Regions from separate parts of the Homo sapiens genome. Here all the other regions are linked to region 1. The links are contacts of gene promoters, found by promoter capture Hi-C in human tissues and cell types (Jung and others, 2019). All regions are on one chromosome and are shown on one strand. The core of a region is centred on a gene start or on the middle of the fragment in contact, and the rest is flanking DNA. Distances in the headings are between cores, read along the strand shown.

The links. The method cuts DNA at HindIII sites, captures the fragments that hold promoters and counts their contacts. A contact is called where the count stands out against the background at its distance.
Region 2: a contact is called between a fragment that was not itself captured here and the fragment with the promoter of RSF1 in region 1, in 2 of the 25 tissues and cell types used here (adrenal gland and lymphoblastoid cells).
Region 3: a contact is called between a fragment that was not itself captured here and the fragment with the promoter of RSF1 in region 1, in 3 of the 25 tissues and cell types used here (mesenchymal stem cells, pancreas and thymus).
Region 4: a fragment that was not itself captured here is called in contact with the fragment with the promoter of RSF1 in region 1 in 2 of the 25 tissues and cell types used here (lymphoblastoid cells and mesenchymal stem cells).

Annotation. Positions count from the first base shown.
Region 1 is chr11:77,817,236-77,823,098 of GRCh38, forward strand. RSF1 (remodeling and spacing factor 1) reads right to left here and starts at 3,487. Exons shown (of 16, transcript NM_016578.4): 1 at 3,293-3,487. The coding sequence starts at 3,479. AAMDC (adipogenesis associated Mth938 domain containing) reads left to right here and starts at 3,909. Exons shown (of 4, transcript NM_024684.4): 1 at 3,909-4,006. RefSeq lists enhancers at 1,868-2,841, 2,137-2,246, 2,842-3,814, 3,367-3,536, 3,547-3,686 and silencers at 2,877-2,966, 3,107-3,196, 3,787-3,946. The HindIII fragment of the contact is 12,017 bases long and covers 1-5,863 here.
Region 2 is chr11:77,713,236-77,719,872 of GRCh38, forward strand. The region is part of intron 5 of RSF1 (remodeling and spacing factor 1); the gene reads right to left. Among named protein-coding and RNA genes, the nearest start is that of RSF1-IT1, 23 kb to the right of the region's middle. The HindIII fragment of the contact is 3,932 bases long and covers 3,141-6,637 here.
Region 3 is chr11:77,901,229-77,907,169 of GRCh38, forward strand. INTS4 (integrator complex subunit 4) reads right to left here. Exons shown (of 23, transcript NM_033547.4): 17 at 2,312-2,392; 18 at 193-323. It also overlaps a transcript of AAMDC not described here. Among named protein-coding and RNA genes, the nearest start is that of AAMDC, 83 kb to the left of the region's middle. The HindIII fragment of the contact is 8,265 bases long and covers 31-5,941 here.
Region 4 is chr11:77,734,159-77,740,155 of GRCh38, forward strand. The region is part of intron 4 of RSF1 (remodeling and spacing factor 1); the gene reads right to left. It overlaps RSF1-IT1 (RSF1 intronic transcript 1), which reads right to left and starts at 5,551. Exons shown (of 2, transcript NR_046822.1): 1 at 5,030-5,551; 2 at 4,011-4,772. It also overlaps the pseudogene FTH1P16. The HindIII fragment of the contact is 7,107 bases long and covers 1-5,551 here.

The DNA.
Region 1 (5,863 bases), core at 2,237-4,736:
CAAATAATGTTTTTACTTCATTCTTAACCATAATTACTTGTGAAATGTGTATTACTGTTGGGCACTGCACAACTTTTCAAACCTTGGAATCAGAGTGGACCCTGCTATCCTCTTTCCTGCTGCATACTGACTTTTTTGTGAATTTTACCACAGCAACCGCTAAAAAACCAGCTTCACAAAGACATATCATCTATAGAAATGTGGCACAACCTTGAAACCATGAAGTATGTCAAGGCAGTAGCTCACCTGGCAACCAGCAAATTTCGGCTACCACTGTATCCTACTTGAAAATTTAAACTATCAGATGGAGTTGGCAACAATGCTCTAGGGTGCCTTGGTGCAGTTTGGAAACCATGATACTATGGCAAGGTATATAATTTTGTGGCTTTGGACTCAGACTTGGGTTGGAAATCATATTCTACCATTAACTATAGACTCTTAAGCACCTTAATCTATTGAGCCTTAGTTTCTATGCCTGCCAAATAGGAATAATACTATCAACTTCAGAGAACAGTTGCAAGGAACTAAATCCATGTCTTTTAACTCTTGTACACTACAACTCTTTCCCAAAAAGACTCAGTTCAAATCTTGTTGGCTGAGCCACTATCATTTTATCAGCTATTTGAAACAGGCTGAAAGTTTGTAATAGCTGATAAAACGACAGAGGTTCACCCAACAAGCCAACTTTGATGATGATATCATGGTTCATCATCAAAGTTCTGAAAATCGTTTCCCTGCACAGTAACAGCATTTCACCTGCAGAGACTTCTCATTTGCCAAGTGTTCTGAACTGTGTAACATTAATTAATAATTATTCTAAGATCACCTTATGATAGGATCTATTATTATCAGTCCCCTTAGCAACTCTATACCAACGGTAATGCAGTGGCTGAAATAAATGATCCTTCTTAGCCCAGGTTACCTGTCATTTTTACTTACTTAGTGAACCACTATTCAATTCAACTGACTCTAATATTGTATTCCTGTGATATTAATATAAACTAAATGCACTGGTCAAAATACCTAAAATAAATGTAGATTCAAGCAATCTCATATACTACCCAAAATACCACGCCATCCCAGAAAACCTATGCATTTCAACTTGGTCCAAAGAAATTACCAAAACAATTTACTAGCCATCCTTTCCCCAAATGCCCACAGTTCGTTCTCTGAGAGATACATTACTATCACTTCCCAAGGCATCCTAAAAGCAACTTACTAAGGCATCCTACTTCACAATGACTACCTTCTTAAAAATTAAAAAACGGGCCAGGCTTGGTGGCTCACGCCTGTAAAGCACTTTGGGAGGCCAAGGTGTGTGGATCACGAGGTCAGGAGTTCGAGATCAGCCTGGCAAACATGGTGAAACCCCGTCTCTACTAAAAATACAAAAATTAGCCGGGCTCGGTGGTGCACACCTGTAATCCCAGCTACTCGGGAGGCTGGGGCAGGAGAATCGCTTGAACCTGGGAGGCGGAGGTAGCAGTGAGCCCAGATCCTGCCACTGCATTCCTGCCTGGGCAACAGAGTGAGACTCCGTCTCAAAAAACAAATAAAAATAAAAAATATAAAAAAGAATGTAAATACAATTTGATAATGAAATTACTACAATGGGAGCTTAATTTTTAAACAAATTCTGTGAGAAGCCTTTATATAATGTAATTAGTCACCCTCCTATTTTGTACTATTTTTTAAATTAGCCTTTTGTAAGCCAGTTTGTTACAGGTAGAGGGAATGTGGACAGGTAAGAACAGATTACTAGGCTTATATTATAACTGCTGTATTAATTTGAGTCTTCGGTAGCCATAACATCATACAGATTCTTTATAGGTAATATTCTGAAGAACTTCATACTTGGCGCTTCCTAGCAATGCAAATAAATTCAGTTAACAGAAACTTCTTCATTTACATAGAGAATAGAAGAGCGACCCTGCTTTCTTGGAAAGGAAACAGCTATCTGTCTTGTACAATAACCAATCCACTTTGGCCAGCTAATATGGACAAAAAAAGAGACCTATTTGGAAAACGTTTCTTCTCCAGCCAAGGGCTGTTTCCAGATAAAGGCAATGCTCAGAGTATAACAAAAAAGCCTTCTCTGAGGAAAGAAAAGTGCCAGAAAAGGAGAGGCAGGGATCGGGAATAAATGGGGGTGAGTATAAGCACTCAGTGTGAAGGCTGGAGGCAGCAGGCGCAGCGCTGAGATGCTCCAGCAAAAGAACCAGCAGCAGCAGCAGGAAGTTTCAATGGGGCCGGGCAGAGCATGCGCCCTGCACCCGCGCGGTGGCCTTATGTGGAAGGAGCACCACTTGCGAACACCAATAATAGACCAGCGGCACCAGAGAGAGAAACATGAGCAACAAGCACCTTCTTCAACTGTTTCCCCCTCCGTCAGAGCCCCTCCTCCAGCTTACATACTAACCACCCCACCCTACCGTGCAAATGGGAGGGAGACGACTTCTTCGCCTAAGCCCGGCTGCCAAGATGAAGGGGGAAGGGATTGGAAAAGTGGGGAGATGCTCGCCTATTATTTTGGGGGAGGTGGGGAGAGGAAGGAGAACTATGGAGGAGGAATTAACCCTCTCCTCTCCACAGTGGAGCTGAACCGACTTCGCCCCCCTACCGAGAATGGAGAAGAACCCCCTCCCGTGGGGGAGGAGCAGACCTCCCCACTTCAAGGAAGGAGTTTTAGGGGTTAAAGCAGCCCTCGAGGGGAAGGGAAAAGGGACAAATCTCTCAGGGGAGTTCCCAACAGAGGGAGGGAGAGTTGAGTGTCCGCTGGCCCCCGCCCACCCAGGTGAAGGGAGATAAGGAGGTGTCCGGAGCAGCCGAGCCCAGCCTTCCCCGAGATGGTCGGGAAGACTGGTGGGAGGAGGGGAGGGAGTAAGGGTGGGGAGGAGGAGAAAAGCGCAAAGCTGGCCGGAACCTGCGCTCCCCTTCCCCCGCCGCCAAGGGGGAGACGGGGTGGGGGGCCGCCCTCCGCCGCGGAGAAGCAGTCCCCGGGGCTGCCGACCGGCACAATGACCCCTCCCCGCCTCCAGCCCACACCTAGCCCGCAACGCCTCCACCTCAGCTCCCCGCCCGGCCGAGTGGCCCTAGGGGGCCTCCGCCCCGCCTCCCCACTGCCCAAGACCCCGGGGGCTGGGCGGAGAAGACCAGCCCGGCGGAGTTGCGTCCCAGGGGGAAGACAGAGCCGCGGAGGCCCGAGCCGCGAAGAACCGGGGCGCCTGTGAAGAGCGGAGAGTAGCAGAGCGCCAGGGCCGCTTCCCGCCGGGCGTTCGGGCCCCTCGCTTACCTTCTCCGTTGCCGACGTCCGGCGGCGGCGCCTGCAGCACCCGCTCCAGCTCAGGGAACGGCAACTCAGGCAGGTCTAGCAGCGGCCCGTAGCGCTCCAAGAAGGAGCAGACTACGGCGAAGTTGGGGCACGAACCCGGGCAGCCCGGAGGAGCCATCACCGCCGCCGCTGCCGCCGCCGTCGCCATTTTGAACTGGAGGATGGAGGAGGAGGCGATGGGGGGGCGGGGGAAGTTGTGGTGCCGAGGGATGGCAAGGCAACCTTACAGACGACAGGAGGCGCTCTCAAGTGGGCTCCTCTGCGGATCCCAGCGTCTCAGGGACGGCTCCGCGATCCCACAATACATCGGCGGCCCGGAGCAGTCGAGAACCGAGTCAGACGGGAGACAGAGCGGCCCTCGGCGCCTTTCACTTTCCGCCCTCTTTCCGCCCCCTTCTCTCCTCCCCTTCGGGCTTGCCACTGCCTCGTGTGACAGGGGGAATGAAAACAAGGGAAGCGGGGCGGGGAGGCGGGCTGGAAGCGGGAGGGGCGGGACTTCTCGAGAACAATGGCCAATGGACGCAGAGGGGGCGGGGCCTCGGGCGCTGTTCAACTGCAGGGCGTATTCCCGGAGGGCAGTTGGGGAGCGCAGATCCCGAAGCAGCGCTGGGAGCGTAAGTGCGGGCAGAGCACTGCGCCGTTTGGGAACGCAACTTTGAGGAGACAGTGCGGTGGGTGAGTTTGCGGGGGAATCCTGAAACTGGGCCACGAGATGGTGGAGAGGTTGAGGAGAATTAATAAACAGAAAAAGGGAATAGGGCGGGGGAAAGCACAGTTGTGGGAGAAGGTTGGGAAGGGGAAAGGTAGAGGTGTGCCCTTAATTAGGGGCTGGGCTGGGACCTCGGTAAGATGTCTCTGTGGAAGTTTGCCGACGGGGTATTGCTCTCTGCTGGGGTACAGGAATCGCAGCTTTGCTGGAAAAGCAGGATCTGAGGGAACGGAACTCTGGGGGAATCGTCGGAGTGAGGAGTTGGGGCCCTGCTGGGAGAAGAGGATCTGAGGAGACCAGGCTCTGCTAGGGGGCCATGGTGTGAGGGGAAGGGGCTCTGTTCAGGGACCAGAATCGGAGTGTGGGCTGGGACTCCATTGAGAGGCGGAACATGACAGGAGACGGTGGAGCAGCGAAAAGTTTGTTAGAAGACAGGGTTCCACTTCGGGGCGGGGCGGGGGCAGTGAACATTCCCACAAAGAACGCCAGAGAGAAACTACCAATAATGTAAAATAGAATGTGCAGCCTGAGAAGCAGCAGTACACGTTATGCTTAGAAGCCTGAGCTTTGGATTCAGCCAGGCCTGAGTCCTAGCGGGGCTACTTCATGACACTGTGGAGGTTTCTTTATTTCTTTGAACTCCTTAGAGTGGGGTGATAATAGTACCTACATCATACGGTATTACTAGATAAATCACAGTAAAGTGATTAGCACAGTGCCGTAGCACATAGTGAGTACTTTAAAAATATTAGTTATCAAAAAAGGAGTTCCTATAATTTAGACTGAATTCCGCTATATTTATTTAGTCTATAATTTATTACTTTGAGAATTTTCTGAGTGCATTTAAAACTCAATGTAGTACCTAATTCCTAAAAAGAATTTGGCCGGGCGCGGTGGCTCATGCCTGTAATCCCAACACTTTGGGAAACCGAGGTGGGTGCATCACCTGAGCTCTGCAGTTCCAGACCAGCCTGGGCAACATGGTGAAACCCCGTCTCTAGTAAAAATAACGAAAATTAGCCGGGAATCCTTGGGAGGCTGATGCAGGAGAACCCCTTGAACCGGGGAGGCGAAGGTTGCAGTGAGTCGAGGTCGCGCCACTGCACTCCAGCCTGAGCGACAGAGCAAGACTCCACCTCAAAAAAAAAAAAAAAAAAAAAGAATTTGAAGCAAGGTACAACACAAACCATGTAAAAAAGAGAAATCTGTAATTATAGAAAGATAAGAAATAGATGGGCAAATAATTATATGAGTAACAGGGAAAATGGTCACACAAACACCGAATTTTTTTCTTCATTTCCAGGTTTTAAAAAGGGGAAAAACCATAAGGGTGTGTATTATTCCCATTATCTAAAGAAAGAATACTCAATTTATCAAGAGAAAAATTCTATATTGTAAGAAGAATTTATTGCCTTGAATAGTGATTCATAGTCTTGAGTGGTATACAAACCGTTTTTAAAGGAAAAAAGTTCTTTTGAAACTTGGCAAATACTTTTGAAAATTTCACTGTAAGAAATACTGATGTAAGAAATCAAAGTCTAAAGAACACTGTAAATGTACTTAATGCCACTGAAGTATACACTTAAAGTGGTTAAAATGGCATATTTTATGTTACATGTATTTTACGACAATAAAAAAGCTTTTAAGAAATTAAAATCCGCCGGGCGCTGTGGCTCACGCCTGTAATCCCAGCACTTTGGGAGGTCGAGACGGGCGGGTCACGAGGTCAGGAGATCAAGACCATCCTGGCTAACGCGGTGAAACCCGTCTCTACTAAAAATACAAAAAATTAGCCGGGCGTGGTGGCGGCGGGCCCCTGTAGA
Region 2 (6,637 bases), core at 3,857-6,356, 100 kb before region 1:
TACAAAACACTCACGGGAAAAGAGATTATAGATATTGGTAACAGCTTATCTGCAGTCTATCTGAAAGTCACATTGGCTGGACATAAAGTCCCTGGCTGACATTTTCTCCCCCCGAGAGTCTCTCAAATACATTATGGCATTTTCTTCTGGAATAAAGCACTGATGTCAAAAAGAGTGAAGGCAGTCTGATTTTCCTTCCCTTGTAAGTCATTTGGTCTTTTTGTCTGGATACGCAAGGTATTTCTTTCTTCAAAGCCCTGTAATTTTACTAGAAAATGTCTTGATGTTGAATGGTCTGCACTGAGTTTCCAACTACTTCAGGAAAGTGTTTTCCAACACAGTCTTTAGTTATTTATCTGTCCCCTTGCTTTTTCTTTTTTGTGGACACCTATCTCTTGGATCTTCTTTGCCTATTTTCAGTATAGCATTTTCTCTCAAATCCTTATATCCTATGTTTCTTTTGTTTTTTACAAATACCCTGTTTTCTAATTTTCTATTTTGTAAAGGCATTAATTCTTATGTTTGTTGACTCAGATGTTTATCTTAATCTTTTTAAAATTTTAACTCTTCTGAGTCCTACCACTTATTATAGTGCTCATGTTTGATGGGCATGTCTTTCTGAGAAGCTTTCACTGTCCGTAGGGATGTTATTCTGCTTCTTGTTCTCTCTTGTTCTTATAATCCCAGGAGATTTGAACTTGCTCCCTTTTAGTTGTCTGGTTTTATGTACAAGTAGATTTCCTAAACTTTTAGAAAAAAGTCATTTTTATGATAGTTTTGCCAATTTCATAACTTTAGAGCTCCCGTTATTTTTGTGAAATACTCAAATTAAAGCAATGTACTTTATGAGATCACCTAACTCTATTCTTCTCCCATAAATTTATTTGAACCTTCTTTTTGTTTGTCCTGTTGTCCCTGTCCTACTTAATTTGGAGCCTATGCCCAGCAGTTTCACATCAGCGTGGAGCTTAATCCTGGAAAGGCTTTGGGTGGTGAGGATTGAGAATTCATGAGGCCCATAGTACCTGAGAATCTTTAAGACCTTTGTTGTAGATTTTGTCTATACGTTTTTGTTGTTACCATCAATATGTTCCTTTTATGGGGGAATTGGTAGAGACTCAAAATCCACACCACTATTACTTTCCAAAATTCATGAATGATAAATTTTCCCCTTCTAATTCAAACCACAACAAACTCAGAGCAAACCAATTTCAACAGTTCCTCCAATCATGAAAGATTTCTTCTGTTTCTTTCTCCTTTTCTTCCTTGCTTCCTTCCTTCCCTCCTTCTCCAATAAGGAAAAATCTTTCACATAAGAAGCACTAGAGGCCAGGCGTGGTGACTCACACCTGTAATCCCACTTTGGGAGGCCGAGACAGGCAGATCACTTGAGCGCAGGAGTTTGAGACCAGCCTGGGCAACATGGTGAAACCTTGTCTCTACAGAAAATACAAAAATTAGCTAAGCGCAGTGGCGCATGCCTGTAGTTCCAGCTACTCAAGAGGCTGGGGTAGGAGGACTGATTGAGCCCTAGAGGTGAAAGCTGCAGTGAGCCATGTTTGAGCCACTCAACTCTAGCCTGGAGACAGAGCATAAACCTTGTCTTTAAAAAAAAAAAAGGCTTACTCCTGTAATCCCACTGCTTTAGAAGGTTGAGGTGGGAGGATTCCTTGAGGCCAGGAGTCTAAGACTGGGCAACATAGCAAGACCTCATCTCTACAAAAACAATTTTTTTTTAATTAGCTGGACATGGTGGCACATGCCTGTAGTCTGAGTTACTCAGGAAACTCAGGTAGGAGGATTGCTGGAGCCCAGGTGTTCAAGGTTACAGTGATTTATGATCATGACACTGTATTCTATCCTGGGCAATTGAGCAAGACCTTATCTCTTAAAAAAAGTTCTTAAATTATTGGGAATGATAGAGGAGTTAAAAAATTATTTAAGTTCTTTAAAAAAAAGCAGCAGCACTATAGTCTGTATCCTATTGTTTATGGCAAAAAAATACAAGAAAGAAATGCAAACGTCAATGTATTTCCTGTCAATTTTTTCTACTTAACTCAAACATGATGTAAAAGACAGATGGTGATAATAAAGAGTATCTTTTCTTTTATTCCTATAAAAGGAAACTATTTTAGATATCATAATGTTGTAACAATAACATCTGTATTTATTAGTCTCCCTATACTTGTTTAAAGTAAAACAATGTTTTATTTTATTTATTTATTTTTTTGAGAGGGAGTTGCACTCTGTCGCCCAGGCTGGAGTGCAGTAGCGCAATCTTGGCTCACTGCAACCTCCATCTCCCAGGTTCAAGCGATTCTCCTGCCTTGGCTTCCCAAGTAGCTGGGATTACAGGCTCATGCCATCACACCCAGCTAATTTTTGTAATTTTAGTAGAGACGGGGTTTCACAATGTTGGCCAAGCTGGTCTTAAACTCCTGACTTCAAGTGATCCTCCCGCCTCAGCCTCCCAAAGTGTTGGGATTACAGGCGTGAGCCACCACACCCTGCCAAAACAATGTCTTATATAATAAAAATAGTAGTTTTTTTTCCTTTTTTGAGACAGGGTTTCACTCTGTCGCACAGGCTGGAGTATGGTGGTGTGAGCACGGCTCACTGCAGCCTCAACATGCTGGGCTCAAGCCTGCATCAGCCTCCCCAGTAGCTGGGACCAAAGGCGTGCAACACCATGCTTGGCTAGTGCATTATTATACATTCAGTACATAAACTTTTTGATCCCCATCCATAAGTTTCTAGAAATTGCCCACAAGTATCAAAAAATGTTCAATCTTACTACTCATCAGGAAAATGTAAACTAAAACCACAATGAGTTATCACCTAACGCCTGTTAGGGTGGTTATTATCAAAGACAAGACAACAGGTGTAGGCAAAAATGAGGAAAAAAAAAAAGAAAGAGAATCCCTGTACACTGTTGTTGAGAATGTGAAGTAGTACAGCCATATAGGAAACAGTATGGACGTTCCTCAAAAAATTAAAAATATTAAGTACTATAGGATTCAGTAATCCCACTACGGGGTATATCCAAAGAAAATGAAACCAGTTTGTTAACAAGATATCTGCACTCCCATGTTCCCTCCAGCATTAATCACAATAGGCAAGATATGGAATCAACCTAAGTGTCCATTAACAGATAGAAGGATAAAGAAAATATGATCTATATACATGATGGAATATTATTCAACATTAACAACGAAAGAAATCCTGTCATTTGTGACAACATGGATAAACCTGGAAGATACTATGCTAAGTGAAATAAGTCAGGAACAGAAACAAATACCCCATGATCTCACTTACATGTGGAATCTTAGAGTTGAACTCACAGAAGCAGAGTAGAATAGTGGTTATGAGGGACTGAAGGTGTGGGGAGATGCTGGTCAAAAGATAAAAACTTTCAGTTACGAAGAGTAAGTTCAAGAGATCTACTACTGTACAACATGGTGACTACAGTTACAACAACGTACTGTATACCTGAAAATTGCTAGGACAGGAGACTTTAAGTGCTCTCATCACAAAAAAGATAAGTCTGTGAGTCAATGCATATGGTAATTAGTTTTAGACATTCCACAATATGGAATTAGTTTTAGACATTTCACCATAAATATATACAACTTTTCTTTGTCAATTAAAAAATTTAAACCCAGCCAGGCATGCTGGCTCATGCCTATAATCCTTGCACTTTGGGAGGCCGAGACGGGTGGATCACTTGAGCTCAGGAGTTCAAGACCAGCCTGGGCAACACAGTGAAACCCTATCTCTACAGAAAAGGCAAAAATGAGCTAGGCATGGTGGCTTGTGCCTGTAGGCCCAGCTACTTGGGGGTCTGAGGCGGAAGGATCACTTGAGCCCAGGAGGTGGGGGTTGCAGTGAGCCAAGATCGCACCACTGTACCCCAGCATGGGCAAAAAAAAAACAAAAACCAAAAACCAAAAAAAAAAAAAAACACCTTGCAATCTAGAATAAAAAAATAATATAAATACAGGATAAGGGTGTCACCCTTGGGGCCTCCTGAATACAGTGAGAATCCTGGAACTTTGGTCCACAGAGTTGATAGAAGAGATATTGGCTTCCATGGAACATGAGGCTTTTGAGTGGTTCCTGGACCCTCTCAACATAAATCCCATCTGCTTGTTTCTCCAGTTGTCACCTGGGAGAAAACAGCTTCTGGATGGCCATAAGAACTGTTGCAAAGACTATTCCTAAGGCTAGATGTTGCTCCTGTTGGCAAGCTATGATCCCTGTCCTAGATCGATCTCCGTATACTGATGCCAAGTGTTGTCTGTAGTAGTTTTGCGAATCTGAATACTGAAACCTAAGAAGGATCCCGACAGGGACTAAAGATATAAAACTGCAATGTATGGAAAAATACTGTGTTGTGTAGCTCATTTATTAATGAACACATTGACTCATGTATGGGAGCTTATCCAATTCACAAGTTTACCATGACAATGCCATGTTCCACTTTTAATTTTTTTAATACAAAAAAGTCCCTAGATAACGATACAGGGAAGTAAGTTCTTTTATCTCCAGTCATATTAAAATTCTCATCAAAGTTACAAAGAAATCATTATGAGTAACATCATAAATATCTGTGCTTTCATCAGGTACAATAGAAAATATAAAAAATAATTTAACATCTTGTCTCACTTATTACCAGTAATCTATTCACTACGAGCAAGAGTATTTCCAATTGTCCTTACATATGCAAATGCTCATTCTAGTTTGATACACTTTTTTGCTGCACTCAAACTCAAAATGAAAAGAAAGTTTTGGCCGGGCATGGTGGCTCACACCTGTAATCCCAGCACTTTGGGAGGCCAACGTGGGCAGATCACCTGAGGTCGGGAGTGCAAGACCAGTCTGACCAACATGGAGAAACCCCGTCTCTACTAAAAATACAAAATTAGCTGGGCCTGGTGGCACACGCCTGTAATCTCAACTACTCGGGAGGCTGAGGCAGGAGAATCGGTTGAACCCAAGAGGTGGAGGTTGCGGTGAGCCTAGATCGCGCCATTGTGCTCCAGCCTGGGCAATAAGAGTAAAACTCCGTCTCAGAAAAAAAAGAAAAAAAAACAGTTTTGATACACGTAATAGTTTTCTCTTAAGAATATATAGCTGCACATCTCAGCATTCAAAAATGAATCTCCTTAAAATATCAGTCCTCCCCCTCCCAATTTCTTCCTCAGGTACCTTTTACGTTAACCATCATAGTTTTTACAATGGATAGTTTCATAGTATTACATGTTACAGACTGAATTGTGTCCCCCACAAATTCATATATTGAAGCCCTAATCCCCAATGCGACTGTATTTAGAGACAGAGCCTTTGGTGAGGTAATTATGGTTAAAGAATTCTCACAAGAGTGGGGGACTTTAACATTACAGGAATGGTGCTCTTATAAGATCAGAGGAACAGAAAACAGATAGCTTTTTCTCCACACACACAGAGAAGAGAGTCATTTGCAAGCCAGGAAAAGAGCCCTCATCAGAAATCAAATTTGCTACTTTTAACTCCAGAACTGAGAAAATAAGTTTCTGTTGTTTTAAGCCATCCAGTCTGTGGTATTTTGTTATGAATAGCCTGAACAGACTAATAGACTACGTTAAGTTATATTATTTTGCCACATAGAACTTAAGCTTTATATCTGACATCACATTAATAATGATCAAAGGAAAATCATCAGTAAGTTAATCTACCTACTATAACTATACTGGGCTGGGTGCAGTGGCTCACGCCTATAATCTTAACATGTTGGGAGATGGGGGGGAGGATTGCCTGAGGCCAGGAGTTTGAGACCAGATGGGGCAACATAGTGAGACCCTGTCTCTACAAAAAATTAAAAAAGTAGCCAGGCATGGTAGCATGTGCCTGTAGTCCCAGCGAGGCAGGAGGATCCCTTGAGCCCAGGAAATGGAGGTTACAGTGAGTTGTGATTGTGGCACTAGATTCCAGCCTGGGGAGTAAGAGCAAGACCTTGACTCTAAAAATAAATAAATACAAAAACCAACTATACTGACATACTTCACTTCAACAATTAGCAACTCTCTCCTTTTTCTGAAATAATTCTTGGTCTTTGTTATTCCAAAATTGATAAAGACATGAATACAATAAATATCTTATTTTCATGTTAACTACACTGTAAGAAAAAAATATAAGTCCAAGCACCTGAGACTAAGCCCGATTTTAGAGGACAAAAGAAAGGAGTATGGCAAAATGGAGTGTAAATCTCACGTAAATAGAAACAACCATTACTCAGCTACAGAGTATTTTTGACATATAAAAATGATGATCCAAAGTTGACAACTTTTCTAATTTTCAATTTTAGATGTCGACAGCAACTTCATTTAAAAAATCAGTCATATGAAAACATATGTTCCCTCAAAAATTTGTATATTAACATTCACCGCTGCATTATCTATACCAAAAGGTGGAAAAATCCAAATGTCCATCAAGTGAACAGATAAATAAAATGTGGTATATCAATACAAATAAATATTATTCATGTGTAAAAAGGAATGAAGTACTGATACATGCTACAACATGGATGTTGTAATATTTAGCATATGTTTTTAACATTATGTTAGTGTAATGTTAAAAAAATTACGCTAGATGAAAATGT
Region 3 (5,941 bases), core at 2,913-5,412, 85 kb after region 1:
ATTTCCAAGGGTCTAATCTGATCCAACAACAGAATTTGTAATATCTGAAAAAAATGAATAGATCACACATTCCTTAGCTAGTCTTTCCTAAATTTCATTTCACTTATCATTAACTTTCGTGTGATGTCTGAATGCATTTGAAGTATCTTTGAAAGGAACATGCCACATATTTTGGCCAACCCCACATCTTACCCTCGTGTAGTTCGTGCTGTTACTATAAGTTGCAAAGCTTTGGCCTGCAGCCTCATGTGATGTATAATCACCACCTGCTTATTCTCCACACCACTGTACATGAATTCCATTTTGTAGGTCTCTTCCATAATCTATAAAGGAAAGATAATTAACAATCAATAAAAATATCATAGTCTTACTTGAGAGCAGCATAGAATTCTACTGTTAAATGACCTTAGGTGAAACTCTTAACTGAGATTTTACATCCTTATGCTTTTAAGTGTTGAAAGAAATTAGTATAGTATGCCTTGTAAAAAGAGAATAAATTATTTTGCCTACTTAAAAAGAAGACTGACCTGGTAATAAAATCATCTTAGTTGATGATGTGAAGATAAGAAAGTTTAATCACTAAGCAAACTGCAAAGCACTGAAAGCACTGCTTCTTACCCTAAATGAAGCCCACTCTGCTGTGGGAACAAATTAATATATATTATGTATGGAAACCCAATCCCCACAAAGTCCTCAAGAATTAAGCATCAGGAACTATTAACCATATGTTAGTTATCCTGACAGACTGTTCCATGGGCCTGGTCTGAGGGAGTTTGGGACAGAAATAAGTGCAAGAAAACATTTGTCTATGACCCCAGATCAAGTCCCCGATCTTGCTCGGTTCTATCCAAATAAGCGATTTTCATCAAAATGATGCTTCTCTTTTCCTTCTGTGCTTGCCTCCCAGTGAACACTCTAGGGTCACGGAAATGACTCCAGACTCTCTTACAATTGGCAATAAGACAAGTTAAATTACATGAGTGTCTCAATCCCTTTCTGTAAACAGGGAAGAAACAGTACCAATATCATGAAGTTTCAAGTATCAAATGGAGCATGCAATGTGTTTATCACAGTATCTGGTATACAGCAATGGTAATTCCTTTCCTCTTTTCCTTCCAAATTATTGCTCCCTGGTCCCATCCTTCCAATGTGGCTCAATTATCGGGTTCTAGTCATTAAATTCTACTCTTCTACAATAAGCCACATACCAGGTCTGAGAAAGAGTCTGGATCAGACAAGAGTTCAGCACTGTAGTAGAAAACAGATTCTGGGTATCAGAGGATCTGGTCTCAAGTCCTGACTGTATTACCTATAGCTCTATGAATTTAACCTTGCTGAGCCTTAACTGCCTCATCTCTAAAACAGACTTAATACTTATTCCTATCTAATGGGATTATTATGAGGGTTAATTAAGCTAATAGACTTGAAATCATTTAGTGAACTGTAATGTAACAATAACAGTCACCATCATTAGCTTCCTCCTGGGTCATTTACAGACTCCCTATCTGGAAGACTTGACCTGCAAGAGATCACCAAGTCTCAATACTCAGGTGCAAAGGGGAATGACTCAAAGCTAAAAAGAAATAAACTAGAGACAAATAAAATTAAAGCCTACTTAATGAACTACCCAGGACCTTTTAACGTTGAAGAGATGGTACAGGCTAAAGATATAAACAACCTTAACTGAGTTGGGCTACATTTTCAGATGAAAGATTCATGATAGTAGAGACAGCGTTTCACCATGTTGGCCAGGCCGGTCTCAAACTCCTAACCTTAAGTGATGTGCCCATCTCAGCCTCCCAAAGTGCTGGGATTACAGGTGTGAGCCACCGCGCCCGGCCCAACTGCCACATTTTATAGAAGAGAAAAAATCCAGGGAATTTAAGTAACTTGCTCAATATCACTCAGCAAATCAGAGGAAGACCTGGGACTAGGACCCAGGTCCCCTGAGTCCAAAGTGAGTGCTGTGTCTCCTAGTTATGCTCCTTCTCATATCACTAACTTCTGTCATAGCCTGAAATTAGGGAGGCCACAGCAGAGGTATAGAGCTACAGGAAGGCCTCTGGCTCCGCCTTGGACCAGACAATTCCTGGACAGAGACCTATTTGAAGGGAAGGTCTGAATAAGCTTACCTGTGTTGCTGCTGCTGAGGCCAAATCACTCTGCTTCAAATACAAAGGGGCAGCTACATGCCACAACTTTTCCTGCAAGGCCTACACAGACAGAGCTATAGGAAGGCCTCTGGCTCTGTCTTGGACCAGACAATTACTGGACAGAGACCTATTTGAAGGGAAGGTCTGAATAAGCTTACCTGTTTCGCTGCTGCTGAGGCCAAATCACTCTGCTTCAAATACAAAGGGGCAGCTACATTCCACAACTTTTCCTGCAAGGCCTACGCAGACAAATCAGGAGGGAACAGAATACCGAGGTCACAAAGACTGGCCTATCATTTGGGATTTACATTTTTGTTTTCCTTTGAAAGTCTCCCATGAACATGACTTCTCAATTGATCTTATTCTTTTAACCCAATAAGCTGTATCTATTATGGAGAAAGATGAGACCAATGGTTTGGGCTAAATGAATTCCCACCCATTTGATCCAATTCTTGGCCCAAAGGCTCTGTGTCCCAGATCAGTGCTTCTGGAAGCAGAGGACAGGAACCACGAAAGCTTCACCAGAATGCGCAGGCAAGCCAGCTTCCGGGCTCTAGGCACTCCTTGTTCCCAGAGCTACTGGACTAACCCAAGCCACCTAGATACTTCTTCCTTAACTGTGGTTCTTTTTTCTTTTCCCCTATGCTCATTATGTTGTAAGCCCCAACCACTTTATCAACATATTCAACTAGAAATCAAGCAGCTTTCCTAGATTTCTCCCTCTTTCAATCTTTCTACATTCAAAACCACCACTAAGAGCCATGATTTTACCTTCCATCTCTCTCCTCACCTATCCATCCACATGACCTCATCCCTTGCACAAACTTCTGTGACAGCCTCTTATTTTCTCAGTCCTTCTGAATTACAGATGTAATCAAATGACATTACAGAAAACCTAGACTAACACTGTCCAATAGAAATATAACATGAGCTATATATAATTTTAAATATTCTCGTAGCCACGGTTTTTAAATTACAAAGATGTAAGTTAATTTTAAGATACAAAGACTAAGTTAATTTTTTAAAAAAGTTTATTTAACCCAGTATATCCAAGATATTAACATTTCACCATGCAGTATTTTTTAAATTATTAATTAGTTTACATTTTCTCTTCATACTAAGTCTGAGAAATCCAGTGTGTATTTTGCACTTAATAACACATCTCAGTTTGGACTAACAACTTTTTGAGTGCTCAAGAGTCCCATGTATCTGGTGGCTATCAAATTAAACAGTGGTAGGTCTAAACTGTAGATAAAAACTATAGGAATTTCTGGAATATTTACTTCTAATCATTTCTTGTATGCATGTTTTTTGACAGTTGTAGTCAGAAAGCAGAATTAAGTTTGGGGATTAGATCATAATCCCAAAACATACAATCCCAAATGTTGAAATCCTCACATCCAAATTCTGGGGAAGTGATTAGCGTGTTTTGGGTTGTATGCAGGATAGTTGCATCATGTTAGTTGTATCATGTTAGGCACAACTATTACCATGTTATTGTCTTTATTTGGAAATTAAATATGGCTTAAGGAGATGCGTATGAGTGCCAAGCTGACAAGGGGTGGACTTGTGGACCTAATTTTAGATATCAGCTTGACTAGATTAAGGAATATCAGAAACCTGGTAAAAGATTATTTTGTTTTACACATTGAGGGTGTGTCTATGAGAGTGTTTCCAGAAGAGATTAGTGTATAAATCTGAGTGTACTAAGTGGAGACTATCTGCCCTCAATGTTGGCGGGCACCATCCAATCAGCCAGTGGCCAGGAGAGAACAAATACTTAAGACGAAATGGGCTGGGAGTGGTGGCTCATGCCTGTAATCCTAGCACTTTGGAAGGCCGAGGTGGGTGGATGACCTGAGGTCAGGAGATGGAGACCAGCCTGACCAACATGGCAAAACCCTGTCTCTACTAAAAATACAAAAATTAGCCAGGCGTGGTGGTGCACACCTGTAATCCCAGCTACTTGGGAGACTGAGACAGGAGAATTGCTTGAACCCAAGAGGCAGAGGTTGCAGCAGTGAGCCGAGATCACGCCACTGTATTCAGCCTGGATGATAAGCTGAGACTCTGTCTCAAAAAAAAAAAAAAGGCAATATAGCAAAACGGACTCTCTGGGTTCTGCTGCTTGGATATCAGAAATCTGACTCCATGAAAGTGCATCATCACAATACTGACTTTGTGTATAAGCATTGAGTGTGTACACAAAATGTTGAAACTTCCTCGATAAATGAGATATCCTTTTCGTACATCTGCATTTGTGAAAGATAAAATTTCTTGAGATCTCAGCTCTTTGGGTGACTGCATATGCAGTGGTGACCCAGCACAGTTTCCATCAATCTCGTCAAAAGACTTGAGGTTGTTGGGCACAGTATTTCAGATGACCACAGTTAAAAAGCTGGGTATACACAATTAACAACCAAAGTGATATGCATTTATACCTTTCCCTTTATGACCAATTTCTTTATAAATATGGCTCATCTGCTCATAACTGTTAGACCCACCCAACTGTCATTAGTAACCTGAGTGTTTATGCTTGCAAAAATGTATGTTGTTATTGTCTGTTTTATTATATTAAGTGATGTATAAAGTATTCTGTTGTGTTTTTATGTTTCTCAAATAAATTCCCCTTTAAAAAATAAATATCTTTAAATTTTTTAAATTATTTCTTCCATAATTATATTTTGGGGATTTTGATATTTTCTGGGCTGTGGTTTTTGGGATTTTAGACCTTAGGGATTTTAGTCTTTTGGAATTTAAACAGTTTAGGACTATGATGTTCTGGACTATCTTTTGGGATTATGATTGGCTCCCCTTCTTTTGGGTACATAACATTACACCCTAAATATTTTGTCATGTTGTTGTATAATTCTTCATAAAGAATTACTGACTACAGAATATACTGCTAGGTAGCTGTACCAAAATTTATTTAGCTTTTTTCCTGTTATTAAACACACTTGCCTTGGGTTCTGGCTCTGGGCCCCTCACCTACACTGTCACCCCTTGTCATTGAATAACCAACAATTATGTGTTCTTTTTAGGAGTAATCACTTCTCTTTCCTCACCCATATTTTGCTACTATAGAAAAGTGGATTCTTCTCCATGGCCTCCTTGAATTCCTGGGGTTTCACAGAGGCTTGGAAAAGCCAAACAACCTTGCAAAGGGGCAGGAAGGAACTTCTTGGAGTGATGAAAATGTTCTACGACTTGCCTATGGTGGTGATTACACAGATATATACATTAGAAAGAACATATCTAGCCTAACAAGGACCATTTAAGTGCCAAGTATACATACGCACCTTTACATGTATAGGCACACCTGCACAACTGTAAATATAACATTTAGCACAAGTTCACACAGTAGAAAATAACTTTTGACTCCCTGATTTACTCTGACTTTAGCCAAACATCATTAATCACTTTGAAAACAAAGAACACTTTGAACTAGGGCCAAGATAAAAGTTCGTCAAGTGAGAAGGGCTCTCCTAAATTCTGTGCCAAAATTTATAGTAAAATTCTGCTACAGAAGCTGAAAGATACTGAACTCATTTAATTGTTTTTTAACTCAGCAAAACTAAATAGATTCTTGGGTACCAATTCTGTGTATAGCTGACTACTGAGTAAGAAACGCCAGCAAGCTGGTCTTTTTAAAAGCAATGAAATCAACCTTTTAACTTTGATGAAGTGCAGTGAGTTTTTTTGTTTGTTTGTTTGTTTGTTTTCTTTAAAGACAGGATCTTGGTCTGTCATCCAGGCTGGAGTGCAATCTCACTGCAGCCTTGACCTCC
Region 4 (5,997 bases), core at 748-3,247, 85 kb before region 1:
CATATGGTTTAATGAAACTTAACTACTTCTATTGTTTTGTAAATCACATACTAAATCTTGTTTCAACTTAAAGTATAATTATATATAAGTTAATTGCTTCCTATCTATTCATCTAATACATATATTTATATTATTATTATTACTTTTTTTGGGGGGGGGTACCAAATTTCTTCATCTGAAGGAATGGCACAAATCAAAGAACTTAGGTGGATGTTTTGGTACAACTTATAGAAAAGGTAAAGGAAACCCCAACATGCATGCACTGCCTTGGTGACCAGGGAAGTCACCCCACGGCTACGGGGAAATTAGCCGAGGCTTAGCTTTCATTATCACTGTCTCCCAGGGTGTGCTTGTCAAAGAGATATTCTGCCAAGCCAGATTCGAGTGCTCCCATCTTGTGCAAGTTGGTCACATGGTCATCCAATTCTTTGATGGCTTTCACCTGCTCATTCAGGTAATGTGTCTCAATGAAGTCACACAAATGGGGGTCATTTTTGTCAGTGGCCAATTTGTGCAGTTCCAGTAGTGACTGATTCACATTTTTTTCCAAATGTAATGCACACTCCATCACATTCAGCCCGCTCTCCCAGTCATCACAGTCTGGTTTTTTGATATCCTGAAGGAAGATTCGGCCACCTCGTTGGTTCTGCAGCTTCATCAGTTTCTCAGCATGCTCCCTCTCCTCATGAGATTGGTGAAGAAAGTATTTGGCAAAGTTCTTCAAAGCCACATCATCACGGTCAAAGCAGTAAGACATGGACAGGTAAACGTAGGAGGCACAGAGCTCTAGGTTGATCTGGCGGTTGATGGCGGCCTCTGAGTCCTGGTGGTAGTTCTGGCGCACCTGTGAGGTGGACGTGGTCCTCATGGCGGCGACTAAGGAGAGGTGGCGGCGGTGGCAGTGGCTGCGTGGCGCTGGGGCGGCGGCAGGGGCCTTGGGGCGGTCTGAGGGTGCCGTGAAGAGGTGAGGGAGGGCTGGCTATGGGCGGCCGGCTGGGGTGGGGGACGAGCACCGGGTTCCGTCCAAGCACTGTTGAAGCAGGAAACCCCGACGACTCTCGGCAAAGAACGTCTCTATATTTATATTATTAATTTTGCAACTTGCAGAAATGGAAGTTGCTACGTAACAGTACAAGTTTTAAGACTGTGGTGATGTCATGGTATGAAATTTTCAGTAGATCAACTATGTAAAATTATCCCTTTTTGGTGGATTCTCATTTTTTAAAAATTCCATTTGATGTTTAATTTGCAAAGTTCAGTTATATTTCTAAATTTATCAATCATTAAGAAGGCTGACTTATTAGCTTTAGAAAACGGAACCCTAAAGACTAGATAACTTTTGTTATATAATCCTCTTTTAAGAATTAGGTAGAAACACGTTTCCAACACCAGCCGATCACCAAGAAAATAATACTGTTACTTTAAAGAAATTGTTTTAAGAAAAAACAAGAAGCTTTTAATTTACTAGTAAAAAATAATACTTACTAGCTAAGAAAAGCACCTAAATGCAACCTATTAAATGAAAAAGTCAAAGTCAAAATCTCATTTGCTTTACTTGTTCTTCCCTTATCACTTAATTTTCTTTTTTCTTCTTTTTTGAGATGGAGGCCGCTCTGTTGTCGCCAGGCTGGAGTGCAGTGGCGCAATCTTGGCTCACTGCAACCTCTGCCTACTGGGTTCAAGTGATTCCCCTGCCTCAGCCTTCCGAGTAGCTGGGACTACAGGCACACGCCACAATGCCAGCTAATTTTTGTATTTTTAGTAGAGACGGAGTTTCACCATGTTGGCCAGGATGGTCTCGATATCTTGACCTCATGATCCGCCCGCCTTGGCCTCCCAAAGTGCTGGGATTACAGGTGTGAGCCGCCGCACCCGGCCATCACTTGATTTTCTAAAGAAATCTCTTGCTAAAAAGATTACTGCCTCTTACAAAACTCCACTTCACATAAACTTGCACGTTTAATTGAAAAATGTGTGACAACATCTATCAGTCTTAAGACAATCACTCCCCTGCAATGTAAAAGGAAAAACAAACGTTCTTGCTCCTGTCAAATTCAGTTCTGCTTCCCCATAATTTGAATCCAGTGATCCTGGCTCAGCCTTTGAGATATTCTTCTACAAATCAATCCTTTAAATGTTTGAAGACATTTATGTCTGAGTAAATTTCTGCTAGATAAAGCATTTTCAGTATTCAATCATCTTCTTTGTGGTTGTTCCCATAATGGACTTTACTATATTAATGTTTCTTTCAGAGTCTGCCATTCAAACAGAAATACCATGCTCCAGGTATGATCTCATCCAAGTCAAATGAGATGATGCCCCACATTATTTTAGGCACTAAATATATATTAGTGACAACTAAGATCTTATCTTTATGAGGAGGCAAAAATTATTACAATGTTTTCTACATTCAACCTTTGCAACAATGAGAGACCTATGTGGACAAGACAGTTTACTATATTTGTCAGTAAGAGTTCCACTGTGTTGGGTTAAAGCTAATTGGAATGTCATGTCATAGAACATCTCACTTATAATATGCATAAACACACCCAACTGAAAATTTGACATAAATTACCATCCGTCCCCAGAAAATACGCATATAATATTCACCTAAAATCTATTCTTTACAAGTTGAGGCCTTTCACAGGTGCCTGCAGCCCCTCTTAGAGATCTTAGAGCCATACTATTCACTATTACATCACCAATTGTTTAGCATAGTACCTATTACACAAGGATGTATGTAATAGAATTTATAAATTTAATGAAATAAAGGAATGTTAGTATGACAATCAGCTGTTTAAAAATTGAATTTCATTACACAAAATCAGAGAGTCAATAAACCAAATGATTTCTGAATGCTCCCAAATATTTCTGCGTTATTTGGGCAATGTTCCCTGGCTCATTGTAAATAGAAACATATGTATTCACAGATGTCATCAAAATGGCTAAAAATAACCTGGCACCATTTTCTAAAGAAATTTGTGGTTGTGAAAATGAGAAAACTATGCGATGGGTATGGTGGTTCACACCTGTAATCCCAGCACTTTGGGAGGCCACAGCAAGTGAATAGCTTGTGCTCGGGAGTTCGATACCAGCATGGTCAACATGGCAAAACTCTGTCTCTACTAAAAGTACAAAAATTATCCAGGTGTGGTGGTTCACACCTGTAATCCCAGCTACTCAGGAGGCTGAGGCAGAAGAACGGCTTGAACCCGGGAGGCAGAATTTGCAGGGAGCTGAGATCGCACCACTGCACTCCACACTGCAGCCTGGGCAACAAAGCGAGATCCTGTCTCAAAAAAAAAAAACCAAAAAACAACAACAACAACAACAAAAAAACGGAAAACTGCGTGCAGGCATTAATCTACACAAGCATTTCCTTCTGAACAATTGCCACATACACCATTTTGTTTATCAAAAACAAATTTTAACAAATGGAAAGAAGTTTTATGTGTTTTGGGGGGTGTGTGTGTGTGTGTGTGTGTGTGTGTGTGTGTGTGTGTGTGTGTTTAAAAAGAGCAGAAGCCCAAGGAACAAAACATGGAGAAATGGTCAAGCATGAGAAGAGGTGAAAGCAGAAAGCAACACCAGGGGAATTTTCTGACCTTTCTGCTGATAAATATTTCTTTAGTGAATAAACTAAATTTCAGTCTTTGGAGTTAGAAAGGTTGTAAGAAAAGCGAATAGCTGGCCAGGCACGGTGGCTCACGCCTGTAATCCCAGCACTTTGGGAGGCTGAGGCGGGCAGATCACGAGGTCAGGAGATCAAGACCATCTTGGCTATCACAGAGAAACCCCATCTCTACTAAAACTACAAAAAATTAGCCAGGTATGGTGGCGGGTGCCTGTAGTCCCAGCTACTTGGGAGGCTGAGGCAGAAGAATGGCGTGAACCCGGAAGGCGGAGCTTGCAGTGAGCCAAGATCGCGCCACTGCACTCCCGCCTGGGCGACAGAGTGAGACTCCGTCTCTAAAAACAAAAAACAAAAGAAAAGCGAATAGTTAAAAAGGTGGAAATAAAAAGAGAAAAGGTTTATTGAGCATGTATTACAGTGTCAGTACCATTTCTCATATATTCCTCACAACAACTTTTTGAGGAAGTATTATCACTTTCATTTTAAAGTACAGGAATGTAACTCTCAGAAAAATTAAGTACATTAGCCCCCCCATATCCACAGATCAAAATATTTAGAAAAAAATGAACTAAAGTTAATACAATAAAAATACAAATTAAAACTACAGTATAACAATTCTATACCTAGCATTTACAATGCATTAAGTATTATAAGTATATGGGAGGACGTGCATAGGTTATACACAAATATTATGTAAAGGGCTTAAGCATTTACACATTTTGTTATCCATGAGGGTCTGGAACCAGTGCCCCATGGATACCAAGGGACAAAAGTAATGTGTCTACAGATGGTAAGTGGATGAACCCAGATTCAAACATAACTGTTAACTCTAAAATTTCACATCATGCATTAAGGTATAATCTATTTAAAACAGTATACATTAGACATTTTTTTTTCTTTTTTTTGGAGACGGAGCCTCGCTGTGTTGCCCAGGCTGGAGAACAGTGGCGTGATCTTGGCTCACTGCAACCTCCACCTGCTGGTTCAAGCGATTCTCCAGCCACAGCCTCCCGAGTAGCTGGGATTACAGGTGTGTGCCACCAAACCCAGCTAATTTTTTTTTTTTATTTTAGTAGAGATGGGGTTTCACCATGTTGGCCAGGATGGTCTTGATCTCCTGACCGCATAATCTGCCCACCTCAGCCCCCAAAGTGCTGGGATTACAGGCGTGACCCACCGTGCCCAGCCTTCCAGTTCTTTTTATCTTGAACTCCTCTCATAAATTACACCTCTGCCTCCCGGGTTCAAGCAATTCTCCTGCCTCAGCCTCCCGAGTAGCTGGGAGTACAGGCATGCACCACCATGCCCGGCTAATGTTTTGTATTTTTAGTAGAGATGGGGTTTCACCATGCTAGCCAGGCTGGTCTCAAACTCCTGACCTCGTGATCCTCCCGCCTCGGCTTCCCAAAGTGCTGAGATTACAGGTGTGAACCACCGCACCCAGCCCATTAGACATTATTTTAAACAACTATGACTGATCAATAGTAATCGTTATTTCACTGTCATATTTTCTTCATCTACAAAGAAGAAAAGAATGTTTTAAACAACTACGCCAAGTTAATATGGGAAATAACAGAAACAGTGGTATAATGTCATGAATAGATCATATTTGTCTTTGTATTTAAAGGAGAAATGGTAAATAAATTTTAGTTTAGGACTACTTTGTTCACCTCCGTTTAGCAAATTAATTACAAGGAAAATAATGTAATGATACATGCTTATGAAACAATCTCCCATGAGATTAATCAGTACACATTTATTCTTAGGGAATGAAAATTGAGCTTTTCTACGGGTTATTTTTTCAAAGCATTAATAAATAATCACTAAGAGAAATCTGCTGAAATTCAAAATGGGGCAAAAAACAGATATGAGTTAATGTCAGGAAAGTTTTTCATAAGCTAGCGGTTAGATAGCTATGAGTTTTCCCTATTTAATAGGACCCCGATATCTTCCAAATTAATATAATTTGTGGAATATTTCTAAATAGTAAAGTTACAGTGACAGAAAACTAAAGACACAAAGATTCTGTAATAACGGTTCTAGTATTACTCATAGGGTTTAGGTTATATTTCATGGTTATATATTAAATGTTTCTGTTCAAATATATTTGTCAACACAAATAAAAAATCAAGATTTTTAAAAAGAGAACTATGACAAAAAAGTGCAATGTTCCCAAGATTTCCTCAGAACTCCAATAAAGAAATGTATGCACAGCAAATAGAATATATACTGTGTCAAGATGAACTGAATAAATTAAAATAATTAGAACTAGTTAATGCTGAATAGAAAACTATAGCTAAAGGCTGGGCCTGGTGGCCAACGCCTGTAATCCCAGCACTTTGGGAGGCCGAGGCGGGTAGATC